Regions from separate parts of the Homo sapiens genome. Here regions 1, 2, 3, 5 and 6 are each linked to region 4. Evidence: promoter capture Hi-C in human tissues and cell types (Jung and others, 2019). All regions are on one chromosome and are shown on one strand. Each heading gives the region's core, a stretch centred on a gene start or on the middle of the fragment in contact. The rest is flanking DNA. Distances are from core to core; before and after follow the strand shown. Region 1 holds the start of LOC107984254 (a long non-coding RNA gene). Region 2 overlaps EXOC6 (exocyst complex component 6). Region 3 overlaps EXOC6 (exocyst complex component 6). Region 4 holds the start of IDE (insulin degrading enzyme). Region 5 overlaps CPEB3 (cytoplasmic polyadenylation element binding protein 3). Region 6 overlaps CPEB3 (cytoplasmic polyadenylation element binding protein 3).

Region 1 (4,424 bases), core at 1,092-3,591, 460 kb after region 4:
GCTCTTGAGTTTATATTAACAATGTAGAATTTAACGCAGGATAGTCTATTCCTCAAAGAAACAGGAATAATGAACACAATTAAATGTTTCACTTTGACCCAGACTATTTTTCAGAACATAAAGTCATCAACATTCATATTACAGCAATGCTTTTTCTTTTCCGCCCAATTAGCACCAATATAAATCGTTCATTCCATCTAAGGCCCTGTATTACTTCAGGGAATATAAATCTAAGTCCCGGCCAGGTGCAGTGGCTTACGCCTGTAATCCCAGCACTGTGGGAGGCTGAGGCTGAAGGATCACAAGGTCAGGTGTTTGAGACCATCCTGACCAACGTGGTGAAACCCCATCTCTACTGGGAATACAAAAATTAGTCGGGTGTGGTGTCACACGCCTGTAGTCACAGCTGCTCGGGAGGCTGAGGCAGGAGAATCACTTGAATCCGGGAGGCGGAGGTTGCAGGGATCCGAGATCGCCTCACTGCACTCCCGCCTGGGCAAGAGACCGAGACTCCCTTCTCCAGGGACGCGTCCATGGCTGAGGCGGTCGGTGGTGGCCCGGCGGTCCCGGGCTCTACTTCCTCCTCCCGCGCCCCGCAGCTCTTTCCACACTGGCAGCGCTGACGTCCCCCGCGCCCGCGGCCGCCGGGGCGGAGAAGAGGAGGAGCTGCCAGGCGGCTCTGCCGGCTGAAAGTGCATATTATTAATTTGAATTCTAATGTTTGTAATGAGACCATATGCAAAAACTCAACTTTAATTTTATCTATTACAGAAATAATTGAAAATGCAGTAAAAGAAAAATCAATACTCACATGACTTCCTAGTTTATGAAACACCTTTTTATACGTTATCTTACAACCTACATCTCTGTAAGGTAATTGGGACAAATATTTGGTTTCTTCATTTGACAGAGAAGAGAGCCAGGATTCAGAAATGTTAATATTCAAGTTCATGGTTCCACCACTTACTGGGTGATCTTGAACAAGTCGCTTAATCACTCTGTGTAATTTCCTTAAATATAAAGCAGAATTCAAAATAGGGCTTACCACATAGGGTGTGTGTGAAGATGAAATGAGTTAATGTCCACAAGGCACTTAGAACAGTGTCTGGTGCATAGTAAATCTCAACAAATGTTAGCTATTAGCTGTTATTATCACATAGCTACTAAATGTTAGGACTTGTACCCGAATCTAGACCTTCTGTCTCCTAGTCCAGAACACTTCCTAGTACCATGTGCAATTTACCTTTTAGTAAATCATTGATTGGATTTCCGCCTCACATTGACCTTGTTATTCTTGAAGGGATCTTTTTCTACTTTGTTTACTTTGACTTTAAATTTTTCAAGATCAAAAGGGAAATATGTTCGAAAGATTCTTCCTGATTTTAAAAAATCCTCTGATTTCTGTTGTCATCTGGGTTTGCTTGACCTTGAAGTATCAGAAGGTGTTTTAGCAGGTGAAGATATCATAAAGTTGTTTTCAAGAGTGATTTTGGGTGTTTCCGGTGAATTCTGTTTTGGTTGGAAGGCCTAAAGTGGGAAGTAGAGTTAGAAGAAATTGTTGAACTACAGCCCAGATTTTGGGGGGTTGGGGGGAGTTTAGCCATGTCTCTTATCTACAGTGCTGAGAGAATATTGCCATTACAGAAAATGGCAGCTTGGTGACCTCAGAGTAAAGATAATTGTTTTGACACAGGATTATTTATAGTAAAAGAGCCATCCTAAAGAAATTGGTAAACTGTTATGGACCATTTCCTGGGAAAGGAGAAATTGTTTATAGATATTTCTCTTGATAATAGTATTTGTAGCAGGCTTTTACTTGTGACTCCCAGTTGTTTTTACTCTATCTACTGCCAGTGTAGATATTTTATGGCTGTGAGATGGGCCTAAGTGAAAATCTGCGTGCTTTTGTGGGAGCTGCTCAGCTGCTATAGGGAGACAACCGCCTTTTCTTTGGATGCCCAAGGTCAATGCAAAACTGGATTTGATGTTGAAGATTGCAGAGGGTGGGCAGTGATGTGAAGGAAAAATGGAGTCAGCCAGGAGGCCTTCTTGAGGCAAGGAATAAGAGAAAGCCCCAACTCACTGGGCATTCCCTATCACCAGGCCTTTTTGATGTGTACATAATACAATATATACATAGATGGAGTACTCTGACTGCAGGGTGTTCAATATGCTTATGATCTTTGTGGATATCTGTACCAGTATTTAACTTGGTAAGAGAGGAGGTTTGAAAGAACCTGCTGAGACCTCCTCTTTGTGATATTTGGACTTTTTAACCCACCTTATCTCTAATATTATCTTTAGTAAGTAGAATTAATGTTCTCATATTAAGTGAAAACACTGAATTTTTAAGATTCCCTGGCACCTGGTGATAGTTCAATACTGTTTGCAAAAGAGGATATGAAGAAATGATGTATGTATTGTCTTTTCTAGTTTTGCAGTCAGGTTTTATTTTTCCTGACTAGCCATCAACAGAATCTTCTGACCTATGCAGCATGAGACCAAAGCCCAGAAAACAGCTCTTGGTCCTAAAACCTTGGCAGTCTCTCTCTTGCAACTACATGGCTGCCCATTCAATTTGGTGCCTTTTCCTGTGTGTTAGTTTCTGCCTGCTATGCTAGGGAGTGGCTGGTCTTTTTTTCTGCTATATTTGCCTGGATGCTCTGTATAGTAGATGGGGAGTTGGAGAAAAGGCTAAAAACGAATAGCCATTATCCATTGCCACTGTCATTACATGTTGCCCAGGACTCCAGAGAGCTTTGCTTCTTAGCCAGTTGATTATGAATTAAACACCTCTGATGTGTGAGAATCTTCTGTATGTGGGGATTCTTATCCTTCTCTGCCATTTACATTCTTCTGATATGCAATGTACCAGAGAAGAACTGTGTTGATGATGGTTTCCTTTGAGGTTAGTAGCAGAGTTGGGAGTTGAGGAATGACAGCTGAGAGATTTAGCAAAGCTAGCAGGGTTGTAGAGAAGTTGAAAGCTTAGACTAGTTCATGACGGGCCTTTGCTCTGTCATCATTTATGAATGCCAGTGTGGCCACAAGTGCCACAGGTGGCCCCTTGAATATCTGTTGCTCTCTTTAAAGTCTTTGCTGATTCTCCCAAGTTGGGCCTTTGCTCCTTGTGATTTCAGTGACACATTTTGTCCCCACTTATCTCCCTCAGCTTTGTAGTGAGTAGTTAATTGTCTAAATGTTTGTTTCATCTACTTCATAAGTTTCTTTACAAGAGGAACCTGGGGCCGGGCGTGGTGGCTCACACCTGTAATCCCAGCACTTTGGGAGGCCGAGGCAGATGGATCACTTGAAGTCAGGAGTGTGAGACCAGCCTGGCCAACATGGTGAAACCCTGTCTCTACTAAAAATACAAAAATTAGACGGATGTGGTGGCGGGCGCCTGTAATCCCAGCTACTTGGGAGGCTGAGGCACACGAACTGCTTGAACCCGGGAGGCAGAAGTTGCAGTGAGCCGAGATCATACCACAGAGATTGTGCCACTGCACTGAGATTGGGTGACAGAGCAAGACTGCATCTCAAAAAAAAAAAAAAAAAAAAAAAGGAACGTGGTCTTGCTTATTTTAGTATTCTCATAAACCATGGATATGTCCCACTTGTATCAGTTACTCGGTAAATCTTATGGAATTAAACTGAAAAAAACTGGCTGTGTCTATGGAAATCCTGCAGCTAATGTCCATTTTTCTAGACCTACTGTACTCTGCCAAGAGGGTATCTCTTAGAGAAGCAGAGCACCATCATCAGAAATAGCAGGCAAAAGCACACCAGCTTATTGTTGGCCTTTTTAAAAACTTTTTTGAAGCTTTTTGTGTGTGTGTGTTTGTGTGTCAACAAAGCTTTGTTAAAATATCATTCACATACCATACAACTCACCAATGTGACATGTGCATGTCAGTGGTTTTCAGCATGTTTACAGAGTTGTGCAATCATCAGCACAATCAATTTTAGAAAATTTATCATCCCAAAAAGAAACTCAGTGCCTATTCCCTCCAGCTTCCCCATCCTAGGCAGCCACTAATCTATTTTTTGTCTTGATAGATTTGCTGGTTCTGGACATATTTTGTCTGGCTTCTTTCACTTAGCATAATATTTTCAAGGTTTATCCCTGTGGCATGTGGCCAGCCTAGAGCTTTGTAGAAATTGGAAAGCAGGTGGTGCTTGTTTCCTGGCTACTTGTTAGTTGTGGCTAAGGCCAATGGTGAGTCCACTTGCCCTCATTAAGGATAACCAGATGTATTTAGTGGAAATTCCATAGATGTGTTCTAAACTTGCTTCTGTGAGTAATTGTAAAAATTAAACAAGGTAATATCAATGAGCACCTAACTTAGTTCCTGGACAAAGTCCCTTTGTCCCACTTGAACTTCTTAGATTTTAGTAAGAATTTGCCAAAATGAAACAACAGA
Region 2 (4,702 bases), core at 572-3,071, 360 kb before region 4:
TTTTAATGTCCACAATATTTTACATTATTTCCTACAGTCATTTTAGATTTACCTAAATATTTATACTTTTTTTGCTATTCATTCCTTCTTGCATCTCACATCTTCCCTTTGGCATCACATTCCTTTTGTTTGAAGCATATCCTTAGGATCTCCTTAGTAAGCGTGTCTTAGTGGCCAACTCTGCTCTTCTTTGTCTGAAAATGTCTATCTCTGCCCTTGTTTCACTGGATATAGAATCCTAAGTTGACAGTTACTTTTTTCAGAATTGAAAATATTTTATTGTTTTGTTTACTTGAAAATAACCTCTTTCTGGGTACCTTTAAGATTTTCTGTTTATGTTTGTTTCTAAAGTTAAGTTTATTGAGGTACAATTTACATATAATAAAATTAACCCTTTTTTACATGTAGAGTTCACTGAGTTTTGACAAATGTAGACAGTTGTGTAACCACCAGATAAATAAAAAAATACAACATTTCCATCTCAGAAAGTTTCCTCCTGCTCTTTTGTAGAGAATTATCCTGCCGAACCCATAGCCCTTGGCCACCACTGATCCCATTCTGTCCTAGAGTTTTGTCTTTTCAAAAATGTCATATAACATTACTCATATTATATATAACTTTACTGCATATGAATTTTTTTCACTTAGAATAATACTTTTGAGATTCATCCATATCACTGCATGTATCAATTCCCTTTTAGTGCCGAGTAGTTCCATTATATAAAACATACAATAATTTGTTTATACATATGGATGTACCACAATTTATTCACTAGTTCACAGACATTCAGATGTCTCTAGTTTTTGGTGTTTATAATAAAGCTACTACAAACATTCACATATGAGCCACTGTATAAAGATACATTTTCATTTCTCATGGATAAATACCTAGGAGCAGGACTGCTAGGTCATAGAAGAGTTTGCTCAACATTGTAACAAATTGCCAAACCATTTTCCAAAGTGGCAGTATAATTTTATATCTATCAGAAGTGTATGAGAGTTCCACTTGATTCACATCCTCACCAGCACTTGCTATTATCAATCCTTTCAATTTTAGTCATTCTAGTAAGTATGCAGTGGTATCTTATTGTGGTTTTAATTTGCATTTCCCTGACGAAAAAATTATACTGAGCATCTTCTCATATGCTTATTTGCCATCAGTTTATCTTTGGTAAAATGTCTATTCAAATCTTTTGTCCATTCTCCATCCAGCTTTGTTCCTAGAGCGTGGAATGGACAAAAGATTTGAATAGACATTTTACCAGAGATAAACTGATGGCAAATAAACATGTGAGAAGATGTTCAGTATAGTTTTTCACAATGAATATGCTAATTACTCTGATTTGATCATTACACATTATATATATATGTATCAAAATATCACTCTATGTCCCATAGATATGTACAATTATTATATGTCAACTAAAAAAAATAGCCTGACAGTTGTTCTTATATACACTTAAATTTGTTTCTCAATCATCTATTCTGTTCTATTTTCTGTTTATTCTAGTAAACTCAGTACTACACTAAAAAAAAAAATCTTTTGTCCATTTTTAAATTGGTTTATTGGTCTTCAATTACTGAGTTATACAAGTTCTTTACATATTCTGGATAAAGCCCCTTTTTAGACATGAGTTCTGCAAATATTTTCTCCAAGTCCATATCTTGCCTTTTCCTTTCCTTTTTTTTTTTTTTTTTTTTTTTTCTTCTGAGATGGAGTCTTGCTCTGTCGCCAGGCTGGAGTGCAATGGTACGATCTCAGTTCACTGCAACCTCCACCTCCCAGGTTCAAGCGATTCTCCTGCCTCAGCCTCCCTAGTAGCTGGGACTACAGGCACACGCCACCACTCCCAGCTAATTTTTGTATTTTTAGTAGAGACGGGGTTTCACCATGTTTGCTAGGATGCTCTCGATCTCTTGACCTCATGATCCGCCCGCCTTGGCCTCCCAAAGTGCTGGGATTACAGGCATGAGCCAGCTTTTTCATTTTCTTAACAACACCTTTTGAAAAGCAGAAGTTTTAGATTTTGATGTTCAAATCATCTATTTTTTTTCTTTTATGGCTCATGCTTTATGTAACTCACATAGGAAAATACTATAAATACATTATAGAGTAATAAAGATTTTATCCTTTGTTTTTTCCTAAAAGTTTACAATTTTAACTCTTACATTTAGGTCGATGATCCCCTTTAATTGTTGAAAGAAGTGAGTCAATATTCATTTTTTGCATATGGATCATTTAATTCTCTTGCAGTCAGAGGATAGACTTTGTATGATTTCAAGCTTTTTCTATTTATTATTATTATTATTATTATTTGAGACAGAGTCTCACTCTTGTCACCCAGGCTGGAGTGCAATGGTGCGATGTCGGCTCACTGCAACCTCTGCCTCTCGGGTTCAAGTGATTCTCCTGCCTCAGCCTCCCGAGCAGCTGGGATTACAGGCACGCGCCACTATGCCTGGCTAATTTTTGTATTTTTAGTAGAGATGGGGTTTCACCATGTTGGCCAGGCTGGTCTCAAACTCCTGACCTTAGGTGATCCGCCTGCCTCAGCCTCCCAAAGCGCTGGGATTACAGGCGTGAGCCACTGCACCCAGCCCAGCTTTTTATATTTGTTGATGTTTGTTTCATGGCCCAGAATATGATATTGGTGAATCTTCCATGTGCACATGTAAAGCGTGTGTATTCTTCCATCCGGGGTGGAGTATTCAATAAATGTCAATCAGATCAAGACAGCTGATAATAGTTTTCAGGTCTTCCATTCCTCTTTATCTTTGGTGTTCTGCAATTTAATTATAAAGTTTCTAAGAGTGTATTTCTTTTTATTTAAGGTACCTGGGATTCCTTGGACTTGACTCTGTGGATTTCTATTTCTCATCTGTCCCAGAAAATTCTCAGCCATATGGCATCAAATATTCTTCAGTCTCATTTGCTCTATCCTCTTTCTGAAACTCCAATTAGATATATGTTAGACTTCTCTGTATCCCTCATGTCTCACTTCAGTAATTTTTCCTTCTGTGTCTTTGTGATGCTTACTTCCACATAGTTTCTTCAGATTAACTAAGAGAGAATTCATCAACTGTTAAACCTATTCATAATATTTTTAACTTCAGTTAATATGTATTTAATTTCTAGATATTCTACCTGATATTTCTTCACATCTATTTGGTCATTCTTTATAGTTTCTGTTCCCTATTTATATTAGCAAGCTTGGCTTTTATTTCTTTAAATATACTAAGTAGCACTATTATATACTCTATGGCTAATAATTCAAATATCGAGTCTTTTAGAATCTATTTTTGTTGTTAATATTTCTTACGATTCTCACTCGTTTGGTAATTATTTCTGACTGTGAATTGCTCAGTTTAACTCTGGAATGAAGGTGCAGAGATCTGTATTTGCTTCTGCCAGGCACTTGGAGATAGTATCAGGATGGAAATACTTGAAATGTTGAGCTTGAGATGTCTTTGACTATCCATGTATGATGAATTTGGGTTGCAAACACAAGTGGTAACAAACTGCTTATTATGAATTCTCAGAAGGATTTTTTCTCTCGTTCACTCAGCAAGATTTGAGATAGGTAATTTTCCTTACAGTATTCGCCAGAGGGAACAGAAGGATTTTTAGATGGTTTTATCTCTAGCTCATCCTAATAATGGGGCTTTAAATCCTTTGGAGTCTCAGCTTACAAGGGAGACAATCTCTTATTAGACACCTACTTTGGGTGGGCTCTGGGCTTAGCCCTCTGTACCCAATGTCGTCAAAACTCATGCTTTCCTACTCAGCAGATTCTCCTAGGATAAAAGCTATATTCAGTGTTTCATTAAACCTATCTGCATTTCTGCCTTCATTTGGGTTTTCCTGTTTTGATTGTTTTATAGTCAGATATATTGAGGTATTAGTCACATACAATAAAACTCTTCAATATTCAGCTTCTATGAGTTTTACAAACACATCTACTAATGTAACTATCACCACAACCAATATATAGAACAGTTCCTTATTCACTTAGTTTCTTGTCTTTTTGTTTGTTTGTTTTAAATGTCTATCTAGCATCTTCAGTTGTATTTTCAGTGGGACAATTAATCAAGATACATAATCCACTATGTTGTCAGAAACTATCATTCCCTGATATTTTATATATTTCTTGTTGGTCCTTTTTTTTTTTTTTAAATTCGCTGTCTATCTTTCCTAATAGAATGTAAGCTCATGAGAAAAGGGACTTATCTATTTGGTTCACTGCTGTACCCTTAGCACCTAAACCAATGTTTGGAAATGGTAGGTGTTCAATAAATATTTGTAGTTGAATGAACAGTGATACATGCTTTGAAGAAATTAAAACAGGGTAAGGGGATAAAAAGTGACAACATAACCAATTCAAAATATCGCATACTTACCATATTCGACTGGGGTTGCAATACCAGTCTTGCTTGTTTCTTTCTTTGTTTTCGATAATAGTTTTCAAATGTTTCCTCGTCACCCTAAAATAAAATCAGCAGAGTAATGAAAAATACACATACACACACATACAACTAAAACAGATACTTCTTTACCCCAAGAGTCACTTTAAATTCTCTAACTAGAATGTAAATGTTTAATAGCATTTCATACAGAATGTCAAGAATAAGTTTTGCCATTATAGTTTAAAGATAGTAATTTGTTTGTATCATGACTATTAGGAAGAATAAAGTTATGTTTAAAC
Region 3 (4,884 bases), core at 624-3,123, 430 kb before region 4:
TTCTACATTCTTATCACCTAGCGCAATGCCTGACTTATAATGAGTATTCAATGAAAGTTTCTTAAATGAATGAAGAAAAACAGAACCATAAATAAATTCTAAGGAATGTCATCCAGTATTGGATAGTGATATATTATGTAGCTTGTTGATTAGATTTAGAATGGTGCTGTCCAAGAGAATGTTCTGCAATAATGAAATGTAATATCCATGCTAAACTTAATTTTTGGTTTTATTTTAGTTAATTTTTTTTGCGACAGGGTCTCACTCTGTTGCCCAGACTGGAGTGCCATCACAGCTCACTGCAGCCTCCCTCAACCTCCTGGGCTCAAGCAATCCTCCCCTCTCAGCCTCCTGAGTAGCTGGGACTACAGGTGCCATCATGTCTGGTTATTTTTTTTATTTTCTGTAGAGACAGGGGGACTATGTTGCCTAGGCCAGTCTCAAACTCCTGGCCTCAAGCAGTCGTCCTGCCCTGGCCTCTCGAAGTGCTGAGATTACAGGTATGAGGCACTGCATCCAGCTTAATTTAAATTTCCTAGCCATATGTATTTATTTAACAGTGCAAATCAAGAACATAACTGTATACACTTAGTGTATTTATATAAAAGTAATTTAGGGTGGGTGAAAATACTCCTAATAGTTTCTTCAATTAAAACTAAATCATGAGCTCTTCCACTAAACAAGAAGCTCCTGGGAAGTAGTTACATACACCATACCTGTCACCTAGGAAACAGTCAATAAATGTGTGTTGAATGAATAAATAGTAATACAAATCATTTCTACTAATATTGTCTATGGTCCCAATAATTCATGGGGTCAATTTTAATCTTTTAAATTTTTAAAGAATTGATGACTAATTTTTGAAATCTCTAGAAGTACTATCGTCAAATTACTTTTTGGCTCATTCAGATTCTCATTTTGTATATAATTTGTCATATTTTGGGGATTCCTAATTCTCCTCCCTTGGACCATCTTTAAAATTTTAAAAACAATAATGCCCACTTCCCCCCCTATTATGGTGTCTTTGTTTTTGTCATTTAGCCATGCCTTTAAGGGTATTTTTAAATAACACACATTGATCCTGGTTTCCCAATAAGATATGTAAAAATCATTTCCAGACTATGAAGTGTTCTTTTTTAAGAGATTCCAAATCTTTGTTTTTTTCTCTTAATGCCTCCAATTTGACTATTTCCTTTTTAATAAACAAAATAACTTCAGGATATTCATTTCCTCTTATTTTCTGCAATAATAAATGATTTCAAATTTTCTTTTCTTTTCTTTTTTTGAGATGGAGTCTCACTCTGTTGCCCAGGCTGGAGTGCAATGGCACAATTTTGGCTCAATGCAACCCCTACCTCCCAGGTTCAAGCGAGATTCTCCTGCCTCAGCCTCCTGAGTAGCTTTGATTACAGGCATGCACCACCAGGCCCTGCTAATTTTGTATTTTTAGAAGAGAAGGGGTTTCACCATGCTGCCCAGGCTAGTCTCAAACTCCTGACCTCAGGTGATCCGCCCACCTTGGCCTCCCAAAGTGCTGAATTACAGGCGTGAGCCACCGCACCCGGCCTGATTCCAAGTTTTCAAATATTCTTAGATTAGAGAAGGAGGTGTCTGATCTTATTGGGAAGGTATATTATAACAATAGAGTAAAACTCTGCTATATCAGCCTAACTTGGAAGAAGACTAGTTTGAATCAATTTAGATGAAAGTGGGAACAAAAAATAATGTATGCGGGGTAAGCTGTGATTATAACAAAACTATCTTCCAAATTGGCAATCGATGAAGTTGGGTTTTTGTTTTGTTTTTGGAGACGGAGTCTCGCTCTGCTGTCCAGCCTGGAGTGCAGTGGTGTGATCTCGGCTCACTGCAACCTCCATCTCCCGGGTTCAAGCAATTCTCCTGCCTCGGCCTCCAGAGTAGCTGGGATTATAGGCATGTGCCACCACACCCAGCTAATTTTTTTGTATTTTTAATAGAGACGGGGTTTCATCATGTTGGCCAGGCTGGTCTTGAACGCCTGACCTCAGGTGATCCACCCACCTCGGCCTCCCAAAGTGCTGGGATTACAGATGTGAGCCATTGCGCCCAGCCGGCAATCTATGAAGTTTTAAGAGAACAAAGAATACCTGTAGGCAAAACATGAGTTATTTGTATATATAAAAAAAAAAAAATTTTTGAGTAGGAAAACAGGCCCTTCCCCTCAGGATCTATGCAAAATGTAAAGGGTTTGTTACGAGGGGGGAAGGAAAATTGCCAAGATGTCAGGCCATAAGTATTTATCTTGACTGGAAAATATAAAACCTACTCTGAAATTAAACTCAGAGGGAATTAAACTCAGAAGTCCTTGAAAAATCTTGTTCTAGGCAGACAGTTATCTTTATCATAAGGCAGAGAATGTAGATTGTTTACAATGTAGATATAGAAAACATCCATACAGGGTAGGAAGAATTGTCAGGGGGTAAAGAGGGTGGGGGAGAAAAAGGGCCCATGGAGTCATAAGAGGGAATACATCAGAAGCTTGACAAAAGACTGAAAGAAAGGGGAGGAGGCTAAGCTAAAGTTTTAAGATCTTGCTTGCAAATGACCACACAGGTGCATATAAAATGGAATAATTCTGTAACTAAATAAATGGCTGAATATGAATGCCAATATTCATTCTATTTGAAGATACTTCTTGTAATTTCATTTCTATCTAGATCTGAATATTAAAGTAGCTAGTAAGAACTCAAGTTTTGTTTAACAAACTTTGTTATTAGACAAACAAAGTATCCCATGTGAACCAGCTGTGTCGTTAGAAGGAATGACTAAGAGCACCATCTAGTGGTTTTTCTGGTGGTGAAGAACTTATGCCTGGGAATCAGGAGAGTTAGGATTCTTGGCTTTTAGATGTATTTTCTGCTGTATGCGGTCAGCAACAGTGGGATGCAAACCTCGAGGACCAACTGTTACTCTACCTTCATCACCTCATTTTTATATAAAGTAGTATCTAGTTTTCTCCATTTCTTGGAATTAAACCTGGGCAAAGTATCCTCCATCAGATAGGTTAGGTATCAAATTCAGGTATCCAAACCAGGAACAAATTCAGGTATCCAAACAGTGTAACAGCATCCAGCTTACTTTTTAAAAAGGCACTGAAATATTCTTCTCTTACCATCCAGATGATTTTGCCTTAATACTTTTATTATGGGGCACAGCCCTTTTTCAAGGCTAGAATTAGAGGTCATAGTCGCTAAAACTCTATAAACAGCATCCTTTTTTTTTTTCTTTTTTGGCTAAGCTTTCTTGTTTTGTTTTGTTTTTGAGACAGGGTCTCACTCTGTCACCCAGGCGGGAGTACAGTGGCATGATCACGGCTCACTGCAGCCTTGACCTTCCAGGCTCAAGCAATTCTCCCACCTCAGCCTCCTGAGTGGCTGGGACTACACATGTGCACCACCACATCTGAGTAATTTTAATTTTTTTTGCAGAGATGAAATCTCCCTATTTTGCCCAGGCTGGTCTCGAACCCCTGGGCTCAAGCGATTCTCCAGTCGTGGCCTCCCAAAGTGCTGGGATTACAGGCATGAGCCATTGTGCCCAGCAGGTTAAGTTTTTATCCAAAAATTAAGAAAGACCAAGGCTTTCACATTAAGAAACTTATCTACTCTCCAATAACTCACCATTGAAATAGGTGCCAGCACTCTTTAATCTGGAGCTATTCTAATGCCTTTTCTAATACCTACAGATTTCAGATGTTAAACCCTTAGGAGCTAATAACCTAACTTAGACATTTGGGCAGAATGAATTTAAAAATGTATTCTAGACCTACTCTGGATACTTCAAATATAGAATAGGTCTTTCTGATTGCCTGATGCTTGGGAAATAGTCTGTATTTTCTTAGTAACAGGAAGAATTTCTGTGACACCTTTGTAAGAACTTGTTTAGAAGACATATTAATCTTTTCTTCTATATGGTTATATCTATAAGGTATCTATATTGGTACCCAATATATAATAAGTATTTAATAAATATAAAACAAAGTACATACACTGATTCAGAACATCATTCTCATACCTTGGCAAATGCTCCTCCAAATAAGAAGACATTTATCTTGAACTTGTATAAAATTTATACTAAGATCAAAGGTTCAATGTAGCTTTCAGAGGGAGCTATTTTTGCAATTTCCAAGTATGTATTCCTGGTTATCTTCCTGACTGTCTCCAAACATGCAGTTATACTAGCATGATGGTTATGGTCAAATTAACCAAAAGTTAACCTCTATATTCATACATAGATCCTACCTAGTATTCTCATACCATATACTTTTACAAAGTTTAACAATTTATAGTCATATTTATTAATGAAGTTATTAATTACTGTTTCCCCACTGGACTTAAACTCCAAGAGGGTAAAGACCTTTTCTGTTTTGCTTACCACTGTATTCCCTCAATGCCATGCACATAATAGATATGAAGACATAATTAATATATGACTTCAAAGCCCCACACTCTTCAATGTCTTAACATTTAACTGCCTTTGAATCTTAGAACCAGGACGTTATCTTGAAACATTTATCAATTCCAAATTCCATGTGTTATGGGAAAAATTTAGGCCTCTTGATGGTTGAAGGGTTTGTCCAAGTCAACTTGCTCAAGTTAGAGGCAAAGCCAGGACTGGAAGCAAGGTCTCAACTTCCTGACATGTACTCAGACCATCTTAAGACTGATCTGAAAGCAATTTAAAAAAGAAAAGTTCTATATAAGTTCATATAATTCTATATTCCTGAACTTAGACATTGTATCCACTTTGACCAAGTATAGGTTAAAAAAGTAGAAAAACAGGAAAAGATCCAAAGAAAATTTACAAAAAGGCATGTGAAAATACCCTACAAGGAAACATTTTAAA
Region 4 (4,477 bases), core at 1,162-3,661:
TTTCCTACTTTTTCTCATCATTCTGGGGTCTGCCTGAATGTCACTTCCTCAAAGAGGCCTTTCCTGACCACCTGTTCCTTCATATCACTTACTCACTTGATTATTATCTGTTTTTCCCACACAGCTAGAAGGTAATCTCCATCAAGACAGAAACTTTTGTCTTTTTTGTCCACTGCTGTATTCCCAGCACCTTTATAATACCTGGTATCTGTAAGGCATTCAACAAATATTTGTCAAGTCATAAATGAGATGAGCAAATCACAGGTTTTGGAATAAGACAGTCCTGGGTTCAAATTACAACTCCACTCTTTTTGTCCAATTGTTGGCAAGTTACTCAACCTCTCTCTGCCACAGCTTCCTCATCTCTGGTAGGTGAGGAAATATCCATTACAGAGGGTGGTCATGATGACTAATGAAGGAGCCATGTACAATGCCAGACACAGAGTAGACTCTCAAAATTGTTACTTTTCTTTCCATCCACCTCCTCTTTATTGAGATGATAGTTATGAGACTATATTAATATTAATCTTTCTTATCCAGGACATCTACTCCAACCAGAGGGAAATTTATCATGAAGCTAATGAAGTTTAAACTTCAGGGCTGCTCACTTGCACAGGCTCCAAACTGGGAGTTGTAGAGGGAAAGCCAGTTGTTGTCTGGAAGCATTTTTTTTTTTTTTGAGACATAGAGTCTCATTTTGTTGCCCAGGCTGGAGTGCAGTGGCGTGATCTTGGCTCACTGCAACCTCCGCCTCCAGGGTTCAAGTGATTCTCCTGCCTCAGCCTCCTCAGTAGCTGGGATTACAGACGCATGCCACCACGCCTGGCTAATTTTTGTATTTTTAGTAGACACGGGGTTTCACCATTTTGGTCAGGCTGGTCTCGAACTCCTGATCTCGTTATCCGCCCGGCTTGGCCTCCCAAAGTGCTGGGATTACAGGCATGAGCCACCACGCCCGGCCATCTGGAAGCATTTTTATGTAAGCATTTCTAATAAGTAGCCTAAAGAGATCTCAGGAAAAAAAAGGGTACTAATCTCCAAGTCTCGAGTATTTGTTGTGATGTATTTTCTCTCTATAGTAATCTTCTGATTGCTAATTTTGTATTTATAATTTGTATTTTATGTCTCAAAGAGGTCCCCCAAATTGTATATGTTTCAAGCCCTCCAAGTCTGAATCTACCCCAGCCCATTTATAGATTCCATTAATGGAGCATAAATGTATTCAGAAAGGCTGCATTAACACTCTCAGAGGAGCTGCTTCAAGGTGATTGACTACTCTGCATTGGGACTGGTAATTTAAAGGTTCTTAAAACCATGCACTTGCAAACACCACTAGGAGGCTTGCCATAATTTTTACCTGTTTTCATCCAAAGGTTTGCCTTTAGGTGAAACCGCACTGTTAAAAAGATCGTGGGTACGTCTTCGATAAAGCATCAACTTGATTAAGGAACCCTCCTACTGAATTCCCATTTAAAGCAATACTTGGACTAAGGACACCGTTTTTGGCTGCAGTCTTGATCGTCTGTCAATCAGAAACCTAAAAGTACTTAAGCTGGCAAGTCACCATCCCTAATAGCATTCTTCCTTAAAGACTCCCATAAGGTATTATGGAAAGTTAGATTCATAACAACTATTAAGTTGTTCGTGGGTGCAAAGCCCCATAAAGCCACTGGGGAGAAAATTCTTTGTTTAAAAAGTAACCACTGAAGCCGACTGACATTAGTAGTATTCCTAGTACGGAGTACTAACAAGAGTAGTAGTTTCTACTCTGGATTTGAAGCCTTGTTTTGCTGCGGCGCCCGTCCCATCCGCACCTTCCTCTTAAGAGAGCTGCTAACTTCCCCAAGGATGGAAACGTCCCCCTGGGTCCTGGCCTCTCTATCGCTGACCCCTGCGTCTGAATTTCCCCCACGCCGCACTCGAGCCTTGTCTCCAGCGCATCTGTGCCTTCGCGGTCCACGTCCCCACCGCGCTCTAGAGGGAGCCCGCGGGCCGCGCGCCGGCCGCGGATTCATTTTACGTGAGGCCGCCGCGACCACGAACCTTGTTCCAACACCTGCAGGGTCCGGCACGCTAGTCAGTGGGGGTGCCTCAGAAAACATAGCCCCGTGTGCCCTCACTGGATTTATGAGCGGCCCCTCGCCCCCTCACAGTCAGACACACGTCGCCACCCTCACAAGTGCGGCCGGTGGGATCTAGCTGGGACCCTCCCCGCCTGGGAAAGTCTGGGTGCTGGCTCCTAAAGCGCCCCGGCCAAACCCCTGTCCCTCCAGTCCGCCTGCTCAGGCCTCGGCTGTCCGCGGTCTTCACCGTCCTCGCCTGCGTCCTGGCCCCATCCGGCTCCAGGCAAAACCCGGAGCAGCTACCTCTCCGCAGCTCCCGGGAGACCGCGCGGCGCCGCGGCTAGAGCATGCGCAGTGCGCAGGGCCGGCTCGAAGCGCAAGCAGGAAGCGTTTGCGGTGATCCCGGCGACTGCGCTGGCTAATGCGGTACCGGCTAGCGTGGCTTCTGCACCCCGCACTGCCCAGCACCTTCCGCTCAGTCCTCGGCGCCCGCCTGCCGCCTCCGGAGCGCCTGTGTGGGTAAGCGGAATGGAGCGCCCGGGCCCTCGGGCCCCGTGGGTCACAGCGGTTTGGCGCTCGGGTTGCAAAGTGGTGATTCAGCACTTAAAGCCGCCACCGCTGCCCCTCACGCCGCCCGTCCCGCCGGCCTGGGGCCCGTACTGCCGCGCTGAGGCCGCCCCAGGGCCCGGAAGAGCGGCTCGCCAGGCGGGAGCCAGAGGCCTGGTCCAGAGTCGGGGACGTCCCTTGGGCTGGTGAGGGGCCGGGGCCGCTACCCGGGGCCACGGGGCGTGTGCCACTAGTGCGGGGGGCGCAGGGGCGGACAGAGTCACCCGGCCTGCACCTGGGAGCCGCGCCGCGTCACTCTCCCGGAGTCCGCCTGTGAGGGGGCCGGGAACCTGAGGCGGACTCGAGCCGTGGGGTAAAGGAATCCGGCGACTTCGGGGGGACCGCTTCTCACCTTGCCCTCAGCCCTGCCCTTTTCTCCGGGCACTGAGTTTCCAGGACCGTGTGGAATGCCCGCGCTGGGAAAAAAGTTTGCCTGCCTCCCGCCTTGGAAGACGAGTGTGGGGTTTCCTATCGGGGGACATTTAGGAGCCAAAAGATACCTCGGGATCCTCTACAGCAGCTCCCTTGTTTTACGTCGGAGACAACCGGAGCTCCGAGAGATGGCTTGATTTCCCAGCAACTGCCGAGATTGTGGCAAAACCAGGATTAGGACACAGGTTTTTTGCCATCCGGCGGCGTGCCCTCTCCACTGCACCGTTGATCTGCGTACGCTAGGCGTTTTCAGGCTTGTAGTGAACGCTGAATACTTTTTACTACGAATGGAAGAAGATAGGCAGTATTATCTTGCCCTCCCTAGAAACGTTATTTGAACCCCTGCTGGTTTTAATCAGTAATAGCCAGCACCTACTAAGTGCAGGGCACTGTGCTGGACCCTCTATGTAAAGTATGTGTCTGCCTTCCAAGGAACTTTGACTTGATTGGAGCGGATTGGGATGCCACGGGAATTGAGATAGCTACAAGGGTGTGTTGATGAGGGTCAGAAGATGGGTAGTATGGGTAGTGTGTGGGGCCAGAGATGGGGGGGTAGGCTGGCTTTGGAAGGAATGGCAGAAAGGTTGGAGTGAGGGCTGGCGTGGGCGTAATCCAGCCTAGATATGCGGGCAGTTTGTGTTGGGGGAGCAGTGAGCCGATTAGTCTGGTTGAAGCTTTATAGAATTTCCTTGGGGTAATTAGAAGGACACAAGTCCTGTATTATAACAGTAGGGTAATGCTGGCCTGGGTCTTGAATTTTAGTTGGGATTTTCCCAATGCGTAGTAGGTAGGGAGCCATTAAAGTTTTTGAGCTGGAAAGTTATCTGATGGAACTGGGGGTTTAGGAAAGTAGTTTGGTGGCTGTGTGCAGGATGTCAGGAAGTGGAGAGAGTCCTAAGGCAGAGAAACCTGTTGGGACTTAGTCTTTACTGCCTGTATTAGGATGGTAGCAGTGGGGCACTAAGATAAGCTAATACAAATGAAGACTCTATGGAACTTGTTCTCCTCTGTTTTCCACTACATCACAAAATCTCCTATAATGTGCAAAAGACCCCTGAACTTAGAGAATCAGGTGGTAAGCACAGGCAGGATGCCTCCTTTTGTCCTCTTTTGTGTCAGTCTGCTTTTGTTCTAAATTCATTACTGATAGGCTAGGCTTAGCTGTCTCCATACTGTCTCCAGCATATAGCATTTGTGATTTTTAAAGAAAGCACCAATTTTAAGTTTTGTATAACTAAGTGGTTTGTATGTTCTAGTTAAAATTACATTTTCTCTGTAGTTATAAAGTCCGGTCGACCATCCAGAGTTTTAAGATATGTTTTTCTCAAAGATGGAAATTTGAGAGATTCAAAGCATAATGAATGAGATGAGCCAGC
Region 5 (5,065 bases), core at 148-2,647, 320 kb after region 4:
TTTAATCCCAGCTACTCAGGAGGCTGAGGCAGGATAATTGCATGAACCCGGGAGGTGGAGGTTGCAGTGAGCCGAGATGGTACACCATTGCACTCCAGCCTGGGTGACAGAGCGAGACTTGGTTTCAGAAAAAAAAAAAGGAAAGAAAAAAATACATATATTAGGATGTTAAAAGGGACTTAATATTATTTGGCATATTGAAAGAGTTGAGAGGCCGGGCACGATAACTCACGCTTGTAATCCCAGCACTTTGGTAGGCTGAGGTTGGCGAATCATCTGAGGTCAGGAGTGTGAGACCAGCCTGGCCAACATGGCGAAACCCCATCTCTATCAAAAATACAAAAATTAGCTGGGCATGGTGGTGGGCGCCTGTGATCCCAGCTACTCAGGGGGCTGAGGCAGGAGAATCGCTTGAACCTAGGAGGCAGAGGTTGCAGTGAGCTGAGATTGTGCCACTGCACTCCATCCTGGGTGACAAGAGTGAAACTCCATCTCAAAAAAAAAAAAAAAAAAGAGTTGAGGTCCTTTTCTACATTATTACATTATCAGGAACCGGATTCTGTTTTTTTATACTATTTATACATTGTTTTTATGTAGAAGCTAATTTCTAGTGGAAGTATACACTGCTGCAAGCTTTCTAAAGCAATTTGTTGGCAAGGTGGTTCACCCCTGTAATCCTAGCACTTGGGAGGCCAAGGCAGGAGGATTGCCTGAGCCCAGGAGTTTGAAACCAGCCTGGGCAACATGGCAAAACTCTATCTATACTAAAAATACAAAAAATTAGCTGGGTGTGGTGGCCCAAGCCTGTAATCCCAGCTACTTGGGGGACTGAGGCAGGAGGATCACTTGAGCCTGCGAGGTTGAGGCTGCAGTGAGCTCTGATGGTACCACTGCACTCCAACCTGGGAGACAGAGGCCCTGCCTTAAAAAAAAAATAAAATAAATAATTTGTTAATATGTATCAAAATCAATGTTATGCCTTCCAATTGAGCAATTTCTTCTTTAGAAATAAGGCTCAAGGAAACAGTCAGTTTGGAAAATAGTGAAAACTTGGAAACAAATCAAATATCCTCCAACAGGAGAAAGGTAAATTATACTGAATTTCAATATGGAATGTCTTCATAAACATTAAACTTTGTATTATTAAGCATAGGGTTTTGGAACACATTCTATGGCAATAGAATCCATAGAACTTCTCTTTGTCTAATGTTAAAGAAGTGCTTTACATTTCAACAAATTGGGATAAAAGGTATCTGTTCTTTGATTTGATAAACAAACTTTTATCCAGTATCTCTATGTTTTAGGCCCAGTACCTGGGTTACAAAGATGAATATAGTCCCAAACCTGGAGGTCTTCTAGGAAAGGCAGATGTGTAAACAAATAATTACACTGAAATATGAAGAATAAATACTGTAATAGAGATATATGTGTCTTACAAAGTTGTATAAAGGAAGGAATCAGCAATTCTGCTTACATGGTCAAGGAAAGCTTCAAATAATGGACATTTGAGTTAGGTTGGCATGGCTGGGAAGAGTACGTGTAGAAGAGTTAAGTTTGGGCTGGGCACAGTGGCTCATGCCTGTAATCCCAGTACTTTGAGAGGCTGAGGCGGGCGGATCACGAGGTCAAGAGATCGAGACCATCCTGGCCAACATGGTGAAACCCCATCTACTAAAAATACAAAAATTAGCTGGGTGTGGTGGCACGTGCCTGTAGTCCCAGCTACTCAGGAGGCTGAGGCAGGAGAATTGCTTGAACCCAGGAGGCGGAGGTTGCAGTGAGCCAAGATGCGCCACCGCACTCTAGCTGGGCAACAGAGTGAGACTCTGTTTCAAAAAAAAAAAAAAAGAAAAAAGGTTTGTATTTTATCCTCATGGCAAGGGAAAAGTTATTGGAGAGTTTTAGGAAGGGGCATAACATGGTAAAACTATGTTCGAATGATTACTCAGGATTTAGTATGGAGGCCACATTTGGAAGAATACTAGATGAGAGACATTAGGAGATCACTGCTGTAGTTCAGGTACAGTATTATACTGGTTGTGAATGGAGACGATAGGATGTCAGTCAGAAATTTAGGAGGCAGGATTAATAAGTTTTATCAACCAGTTGGACTTGTCTCTCAGGGAAAAGGGGAAGAATCATGTCCAGGTTCCTAACTTGTGTGACTACACTGATGGTGGTGCCATTAAATAGGATAAGTTAACCAAATATAAATGCACAAGCAAATTTATGGGAGAAGAGGTGCTAATAGGATCTTCTGATAGAGAAATAGTTAAAAGCAGTCTGTAGCTTAAAAACATTTCATCCGGAGACCTAAACAGTGGTGAACTTTATGAATATAACATTGATTAGGGAGAGTATGCAGAATTAGGAGAACCCTGGGGGAGACTGTATTTAGGGGCAGAAGATTGAGAAGAAACATTAAGAGATAAGTAAAGATACAGGAGAGCAGTATCTTAAATGAAAATGGAATAGTGTTGTATTAGTTTGCTACTGTTGTGTAACAAATCATCACAAGCTTAATGGCTTAAAACAACATTTATTAACTAACAGTTCCATAGGTCAGAAGTGTGGTGCACCACGGTTAGGTTCTTTGTTCAGGGTGTTAATAGACTGAAATCAAGATGGTGGCCCTGCGGAGTTCTCATCTAGAAGCTCTTGGGAGAAATCCATCTTCAAGTGCCTTCTTGTTGGAAGAATTGCAGTTATAGGATGTGGGTTCTTTTTTAGCTTCTAGCCTGGAATCTTGGGAAGGCATCTTAAATTCTTATCAGAAGTGTTTTATGAAGAATGCACAAAGAAAATAGGACTTGAAAAGTGTTAGTTGGTCATTGGTGACTTTGGTAATGTCAGTACCAAGAGCAATTTTTGTAGAATGGTAGGGGCAGAAGCCAGACTGCAGTAAGTTGGGGAGTTAACTGGAAGTAAGGAAGTTAACTAAGATCTAGAGTTTCTTTCAAATAGCCTGCCAGGAATGGGAATGAGAGAGCTGAGAATAATTAAATTAATGAGCTAGGTCTCAAGGAAACTAGAAGGAATGGGTTCTAGACCACAGAAGGAGGGATTAATTGTGGTCTTGTAGGGAGACTCAGCTTCCTCTGAGAAAGGAGGAAAGGGAATATGAAAGGGAATACAGGTAAGTTTGTAAGGGAGGGCTTGTTGGTGGGCAGTAGGGAAATTGGAGACATTACTACCTAATAGCCTCAGTATTCTCTTAGGAGTTACAGACAAGAGAACTGGGTGCAGCAGCTCATGCCTGTAATCCCAACACTTTGCGAGGCCAAGGCGGGAGAATAACTGGAGGCCCGGCATTTGAAACTAGCCTGGGTGATGTGGCAGCACTCCATCGCCAGAAAAAAAAATAAAAATAAAAATAAAAAATAAAAAAATAAGGAAAAGGGAAAAGGAAAGAAAAATTAGCTGGGTGTGGTGGTATATGCCGGTAGTCCTAGGTACTTGGGAGACTGAGGTGGGAGGATCTCTTGAGCCAAGGAGATCAAGGCTACAGTGAGAGGTATGATCATGCCACTGAACTCTGGCTTGGGTGACTGAGCGAGCAAGACTCTGTCTGTATAAAAAGAAAAATGTTAGAGACAAGGTCTATAAAAAAGGGAGGTAAAATTGGAATTGCTACTTTGTGGCCAGGAGGCCCTTCATAAAATTATGGAATGAATGAAACGAATTAACCCAAGACTAACAAACAGAGAGTGAGAAACATAAAAAAACCCAAGGTGCTCTCCAGATTGTCCACTAAGCTACATCTAGCTCACCTGGCTACCTTTTTGCTCCCTTTTCTCTTATTCTGTTCTCAAACTTAGTCATGTCTAGAATTACTTAACAGATCATCACTCAGAAGATGTGGACTTCCTGCATGTAAATTGCCTTAGCTTTTAACATTTTTAAAAGCTTTCTAGGTTACCTAGGGAATATTGAATAATTGACCAAAATTATTATTTCTTTTCTTAGACTGTGAGCTCTTTGAAGTCAAGGAACTTTGCATTTTTTTTTTTTTAAAGGCAGGGTCTCACTCTGTTGCCCAGGCTGAGGTGCATTGACACAATCATGGCTCACTGCAGCCTCAACTTCCTGGGATCAAGCAGTCCTCCCACCTCAGCCTCCTGAGTACCTGGGACCACAGGTGCACATCACCATGCTCAGCTAATTTTTAAATATTTTGTAGAGATAAGGTCTCACTATATTGCCTAAGGTGGTCTCAAACTCTTGGGCTCAAGTGATTCTCCTAGTTCAGCCTCCCAAAGTTCTGGGATTACAGGCATGAGCTACCATGCCTGGCCACAGAATTTTGAGTCTTTACAAACTCAAATCTTTACATTTGGTGCCTCTAGTACAGCCTGGCACATAGGGAACCCCTAGTTTATTTCTTTAGCTTAAATGACACAGACCTAAGGCTCCCCCTCCTATTTGGCCAGATCATACTATTTTTTTCTCTTTACCTTTACAAATATATTGTGTGTTTTGTAAACTTTAATAAATTTTTTTGAGGCAGAGTCTCACTGTCACCCAGGCTGTAGTGCAGTGGCACAATCACAGCTCACTGCAGCCTCAAACTCCCTGGGCTTTGGTGATGATTCCACCTCAGCCTCTCAAGTAGCTGGGACTATAGGCACATGCCACCATGCCTGGCTAATTTTTCTATTTGTATTTTTGTAAACTTTATGGAAGTACTGTATAACATGTACAGAAAATTACACAAAAAATAAATGTTTAGTTTTCTGAATTTTCTTTTCTTTCTTTTCTTTTTTTTTTTTTTTTTTTTTGTTTTGAGACAGAGTCTTGCTCTGTTGTCAGGCTGGAGTGCGGTGGTGCGATCTCGGCTCACTGCAACCTCCACCTCTCGGGTTCAAGTGATTCTCCTGCCTCAGCCTCCCGAGTAGCTGGGACAACAGGCGTGTGCCACCACACCTGGCTAATTTTTGTATATTTAGTAGAGATGGCATTTCACCATGTTGGCCAGGATGGTCTTAATCTCTTGACCTTGTGATCCGCCTGCCTCGGCCTCCCAAAGTGCTGGGATTACAGGCGTGAGCTACCGTGCCCAGCCTAG
Region 6 (4,955 bases), core at 1,720-4,219, 420 kb after region 4:
CTGTATGCCCTGATTCTTCATCTGGGATAAGTTCTTTGAGGATAGTTGTCTCTAGTGCCTAACACTGGGCCCTACGTAGCGTTAGCCCTTATTAAGTGCTTATTGATAAGGATTATTTTGAAATAACACCCTACATTTATGCAGAGCAGAGTTTGCCATCATATTTTTAAAAATTATCTTATTTTTATAAATAATAGCATATTAATACTATACATCAAGAATATAAAGTCGCCTATAGTTTCTAAGCTTCTGAAAAAAATACTCATCCTTTTTTCATTTTACTTTCTCCATATCTATTTGTGAGGTTGATTTTATTGTTCTCAAAAGTCACGATCTTCTTTGTATGAGGTGCTACACTAAATATTTCCTAGAATGACTTGGTCCCTGCTCTTGGTCTGCAGTTTGATAGGTGTAAATGAAGAAGAGAATGATGAGAGAGAGAGGAAGAGAGACAGAGAGAAGTGCAAATGCTAAAAGACTGAATGTTGCCTTTCTGTAATGAAAAAAGAACGGACAGAAAATGTTTTGTCCATGCTTTCAATAAGTCTTTCATTTCCAAAGCTGAAAAAGAAGTCATCTTCCTTAAATGTAATGATATAACCATATGGGATGAAGCATGTCTAGATCGCATATCTAGAACACTTATTCTCTGAGATGTATTCATTTGAGCCAACTCTGCATAGTATACTTCTGATGAATTGGCAGACTTCCTCATGCTTATTTTTTCATGTGAACAGGGATTAAATTAATGTTTGATCCCTTTCCTCTAATTAACATTTAGACTTGCCCAAAAAGAATAAAAATTAAGCTTGCTGATGTATGTTACTTCCCTCTACCTATGATTAAGGATAGAACTGGAGTTATAACTTATTTTCTATGTGTTACATAAACATGTTGGTAAACTTTTTTCTTTTTTTGAGACAGAGTCTCACTTTGTCGCCCAGGCTGGAGTACAGTGGCATAATCTTGGCTCACTGCAACCTCCGCCTCACGGGTTCAAGTGATTCTCCTGCCTCAGCCTCCCAAATAGCTGGGACTACAAGCATGCACCGCCATACCCGGCTAATTTTTGTATTTTTAGTAGACATGGGGTTTCACCATATTGGCTAGGCTGGTCCTGAACTCCTGGCCTCAAGCCATCTGCCCATCTCCCAACGTGCTGGGATTACAGGCATGAGCCACCACATCTGGCCATGTTGGTAAATTTTCTAGGAACAGAAATAAAGGGAATGTAATATATGTGAAAGTTTTTAGTTCTGTCAGCAAGAATTTGGCCAGTGGACTTTTACACCTCTCCTGATAAGTGTTGAAAAGTTTCCTGGGATGAGTAGAATTTCAGGACCTATTTGGATAATGGAATAGGAATGGGAAGCAAGACATTCTAGTATGTGTTTCTCCTTAGAAGAAGGCTTAAAGATGAGATTGCCATGACCAGAGGCTTGGAGTACATATCTCTGAGTGTATGCTGTGGGACCAGCTGGAGAGGAGAAGCTGGTAGTAGGACGATCTATGCTGCCTTAATGAATGTTTTTGAAACAGGCGGTGAAACTCCTGGACACAGATATTGTCAGGCTTTAGAAAGAGGGTTTTATGATAAAGTAATGAAAGCAGGGGATAACTTGAACATCAGCTCAAGGCTTGGATGAGGACATTGAAGGTAGACTCTTAGCAAACCAAGTGCTTCTAGTAATGTAGTTGAAGCAGTAATAATGAGAAATGAGAAGAATGACATGAAAGAATAAGATTGAAAATAAATATCAATTACATATAGTTTAAAAATACCCAATTATATTTCCCATTTATATCTATTTTGAATTTGTTCCAGTAGACAAACCTTGATTTCATTTGTGGAATAAGAATCACACCAAAGAATCTTACCATTTTTCTTTGGGAGTGTTCTGCCTTTGATAAGCTTTAATATGTGTCCTCCTATACAACTGCAACCCCTGTTAGAAACTAGTCTACCAGGTAGTGTCATTTAAGACTTTTGCCTACACATTTAATATATGCTGTGCTTTTCATTTCACATGAGAATGAGTTTTTATGCTCTCCATGAAACTATTGTCCATAAGTAGACATGTTGGCTATGCCAGTATTTTTGATGTTTAGCAGAATTTCTTAGTTATAGAGCAGTAAGGAGAATATGAAAAGTCCTTTTAACAATGCAAATGAGAAAATACAACTAGTCTACCAGGTAGTGTCATTTTGGATTTTTGCCTACACATTTAATATATATTGTGCTTTTCATTTACATGAGTATGAGTTTTTATGGTCTCTGTGAAACTCTTGTCCATAAGTAGACATGTTGGCTATGCCAATATTTTTGTTTTTGTTTTTTGCTTTTTGAGATGGAGTCTCACTCCATCGCCCAGGCTTGAGTGCAGTGGTGCAATCTTGGCTCACTGCAGCCTCCGCCTCCCAAGTTCAAGCAATTCGCCTGCCTCAGCCCCCCAAGTAGCTGGGATTACAGGCACGCACCACCATGCCCGGCTAGTTTTTGTATTTTTAGTAGAGATGGGGTTTCTCCATGTTGGCCAGGCTGGTCTCGAACTCCTGACCCCAGGGGATCGCCTCGGCCTCCCAAAGTGCTGGGATTATAGGCATGAGCCACTGCACCCAGCCCATGCTAGTATTTTTGATGTTTAACAGAATTTCCTAGTTATAGAGCAGTAAGGAGAATATAAAAGGTCCTTTTAACAATGCAAATGAAAAAATACAAAGAATGATTAGAGTTACTGTTATAAATGTACTCCTGCATATATTTAGTTCATAAAAAATATATTGATATTAATGGGTTGCATAATTGATAACAAAAGTTCTAAAATCCAATCAAACAAACTCGTGTGCTGAGTTAAAGTTGAGTATTTCTGTCAAAAGCCTGCTCGAGGGAAGAGAGATCAGCTATTCCAGGGAGACCATGCTAGAAGCACGCCATCCTGCTAATTCAAACCCAGTTGTATGAGCTTGCTTGTTTAAAGGTATGGATGATTCTAGAATAAAACATGGACGTGAATCGGAGAATTTTCTGAATGTTCATGGTTGTAATATCTGAAAATGTTACTGCTCATAGTAATAGGAAAATTTGAGCACAGATGATAGTGAGGGGAAGATGACTAGTTTTTCACTGTCTTGGGAATTTAATCTGGGAGGGGCCAAAAGAAAGACTGAAGGAGGGATTTTCTGGGCCTTCCACCCAAATTTTACTCATTAAGTGTCTGCATACCTATACTGTACTAGACTCCAGATGTGGTCTCTGACACTGTTCAGTGGTCACTCTTGTAGGGAGAGAGACAATAAATAAGTGAAACGAATATATTTATTCTTAACAGTTGTGATAAATACTAGGCAGAAAAGAATAGGGGAGGTCACCTCTGAAGAGGTGATATTTAAACAAACTGAAAGGATGGAGAGATAGCTATCTAAAACTTTTTGGTATTAAGGAATTTTTAAATATATACAAATGTAGACTAGTTTAATGAACACCAATATATCCATCATCAGCTTCAATTATTATCAGCATTTTTGCCAGTTTTGTTTCATATATTCTCTTCCCTTTTTCCCTGGGAATATTTTAAAGGGAATTTCAGATATTATAAGACAGATAGCTAGTTTAAAAGGGGAAGGTGGAAGGAACTGCATTTGTAAAAGGCTTGAAGCAAAGTACAGATACATGCTACAACATAAACCTCGAAAACATTACACTAAGTGAAAGAAGCCAATCTCAAGAGTCACGTATTTGTATGATACCATTTATATGAAGTGTCCAGAATAGACAAATCTATTGAGACAAAACGGAGATTAGTGGTCGCCTAGGGCTGAGAGGTTGGGGGAAAACCAAGAGTGACTGCTAATGGATTAAATGGATCAATTGTGTGATATGAGAATTATATTTCAAAAAAGTCGTGTTTCTTTAAAAAAAGGCTTGAGGCAAGAAAAGGCTTACTTTGAGGAAGCCTAGAATGACTGATGCTTGGTAGGTGATGGAGGAGTATGTCTTAAGATGAGTTTGGAGGAAGGAAAGAGAATCTGATCTTGCTGGACATTAGCTCCTGGTAAGGATTTTGAACTTGGTCCAAGTACAAGAGGAAATCTTTGAAGCTTTAAAGCAAGGTCAAATGATTGGATTTATGTTTTTAAAAGAGCACGTCTGGTTGCTGTTTGGAGTGAAGTGAAAAGAGAATTGGGTTGCCTTGTTAGGAGGTGATGTCAGGCATGAGATGAGGATAGTTAGGATAGGGTGATGGCAGTGGAGTTGGAGAGAAGTGAACAAATTAAAGATAGATCTTGGAGAATGGGATCAACAGTAGTGTTTAACAGATGGTGTCAGGTTGCTGAATTAACCTTGGAGGGTAAATAAGAAGGAAGACTCAAAAATGATTTTGAGATTCTGGCTGAAGTGATTGGGTGAATTGTAATGCCACATATTGAAATGGGACTGGGAGAGAATAAGTTTAAGGTAGATATCAAAAGTTCACTTGTAAACACATTAAGTTTGTGATGCCTAAGAAATACCAGATATTAATATGAAGTAAATCTATTTTTAGGTAAGATTTCTGTGTAATAAAAGGGATTCTCCTGTTCCTGGGGATCTGAAATCCTGCCATCTAGTTAAACTCTCTCATTATGCAAATGAGACCATAAGTGAAATGTTTTTTGTTCAAAGTCACCTACTGGACACTAGGCTGGAACCTATCTTGACTTCTAGGGAATATGTATGTATTTTATGAGGGAGTCATGCCTCATAATTCCTTTTTCTTAAACCCCCAAAGTGACTGATTGCTGAGCTACTTACAAGACTAAAATGAAAAGAGTCAGGCTTGGAGTAGAAGTGCTGGGCCAGAGGTACCCTGGAGCTGCTGGAGTGATGGCAGAGGCCTTGGTGGGAGCTCAGAGGTGAGGTCCCAGCAGCTTTCACAGCATAGCTTGGCCAATGGGCTTTTGTTTTTCCATCATTT

The links. Contacts are between HindIII fragments. The study calls those that stand out against the background at their distance.
Region 1: a contact is called between a fragment that was not itself captured here and the fragment with the promoter of IDE in region 4, in 1 of the 25 tissues and cell types used here (mesendoderm cells).
Region 2: a contact is called between a fragment that was not itself captured here and the fragment with the promoter of IDE in region 4, in 1 of the 25 tissues and cell types used here (mesenchymal stem cells).
Region 3: a contact is called between a fragment that was not itself captured here and the fragment with the promoter of IDE in region 4, in 1 of the 25 tissues and cell types used here (mesenchymal stem cells).
Region 5: a fragment that was not itself captured here is called in contact with the fragment with the promoter of IDE in region 4 in 2 of the 25 tissues and cell types used here (bladder and spleen).
Region 6: a fragment that was not itself captured here is called in contact with the fragment with the promoter of IDE in region 4 in 2 of the 25 tissues and cell types used here (mesenchymal stem cells and spleen).

What each region holds. Positions count from the first base shown.
Region 1 is chr10:92,111,267-92,115,690 of GRCh38, reverse strand. The region is part of intron 6 of CPEB3 (cytoplasmic polyadenylation element binding protein 3); the gene reads left to right. It overlaps LOC107984254 (a long non-coding RNA gene), which reads right to left and starts at 3,308. Exons shown (of 2, transcript XR_001747551.3): 1 at 812-3,308; 2 at 163-686. The HindIII fragment of the contact is 3,715 bases long and covers 484-4,198 here.
Region 2 is chr10:92,928,118-92,932,819 of GRCh38, reverse strand. It overlaps EXOC6 (exocyst complex component 6), which reads right to left. Exons shown (of 22, transcript NM_019053.6): 9 at 4,398-4,481. Among named protein-coding and RNA genes, the nearest start is that of EXOC6, 82 kb to the right of the region's middle. The HindIII fragment of the contact is 4,610 bases long and covers 1-4,126 here.
Region 3 is chr10:93,004,576-93,009,459 of GRCh38, reverse strand. All of the region lies in intron 19 of EXOC6 (exocyst complex component 6), which reads right to left. Among named protein-coding and RNA genes, the nearest start is that of CYP26C1, 54 kb to the left of the region's middle. The HindIII fragment of the contact is 4,871 bases long and covers 1-4,308 here.
Region 4 is chr10:92,572,027-92,576,503 of GRCh38, reverse strand. It overlaps IDE (insulin degrading enzyme), which reads left to right and starts at 2,411. Exons shown (of 25, transcript NM_004969.4): 1 at 2,411-2,582. The coding sequence starts at 2,485. RefSeq lists enhancers at 1,752-1,991, 2,002-2,061 and a silencer at 2,562-3,011. The HindIII fragment of the contact is 24,485 bases long and covers 1-4,424 here.
Region 5 is chr10:92,253,177-92,258,241 of GRCh38, reverse strand. All of the region lies in intron 1 of CPEB3 (cytoplasmic polyadenylation element binding protein 3), which reads left to right. Among named protein-coding and RNA genes, the nearest start is that of CPEB3, 35 kb to the left of the region's middle. The HindIII fragment of the contact is 3,631 bases long and covers 1-3,212 here.
Region 6 is chr10:92,151,171-92,156,125 of GRCh38, reverse strand. The region is part of intron 4 of CPEB3 (cytoplasmic polyadenylation element binding protein 3); the gene reads left to right. Among named protein-coding and RNA genes, the nearest start is that of CPEB3, 140 kb to the left of the region's middle. The HindIII fragment of the contact is 3,217 bases long and covers 1,361-4,577 here.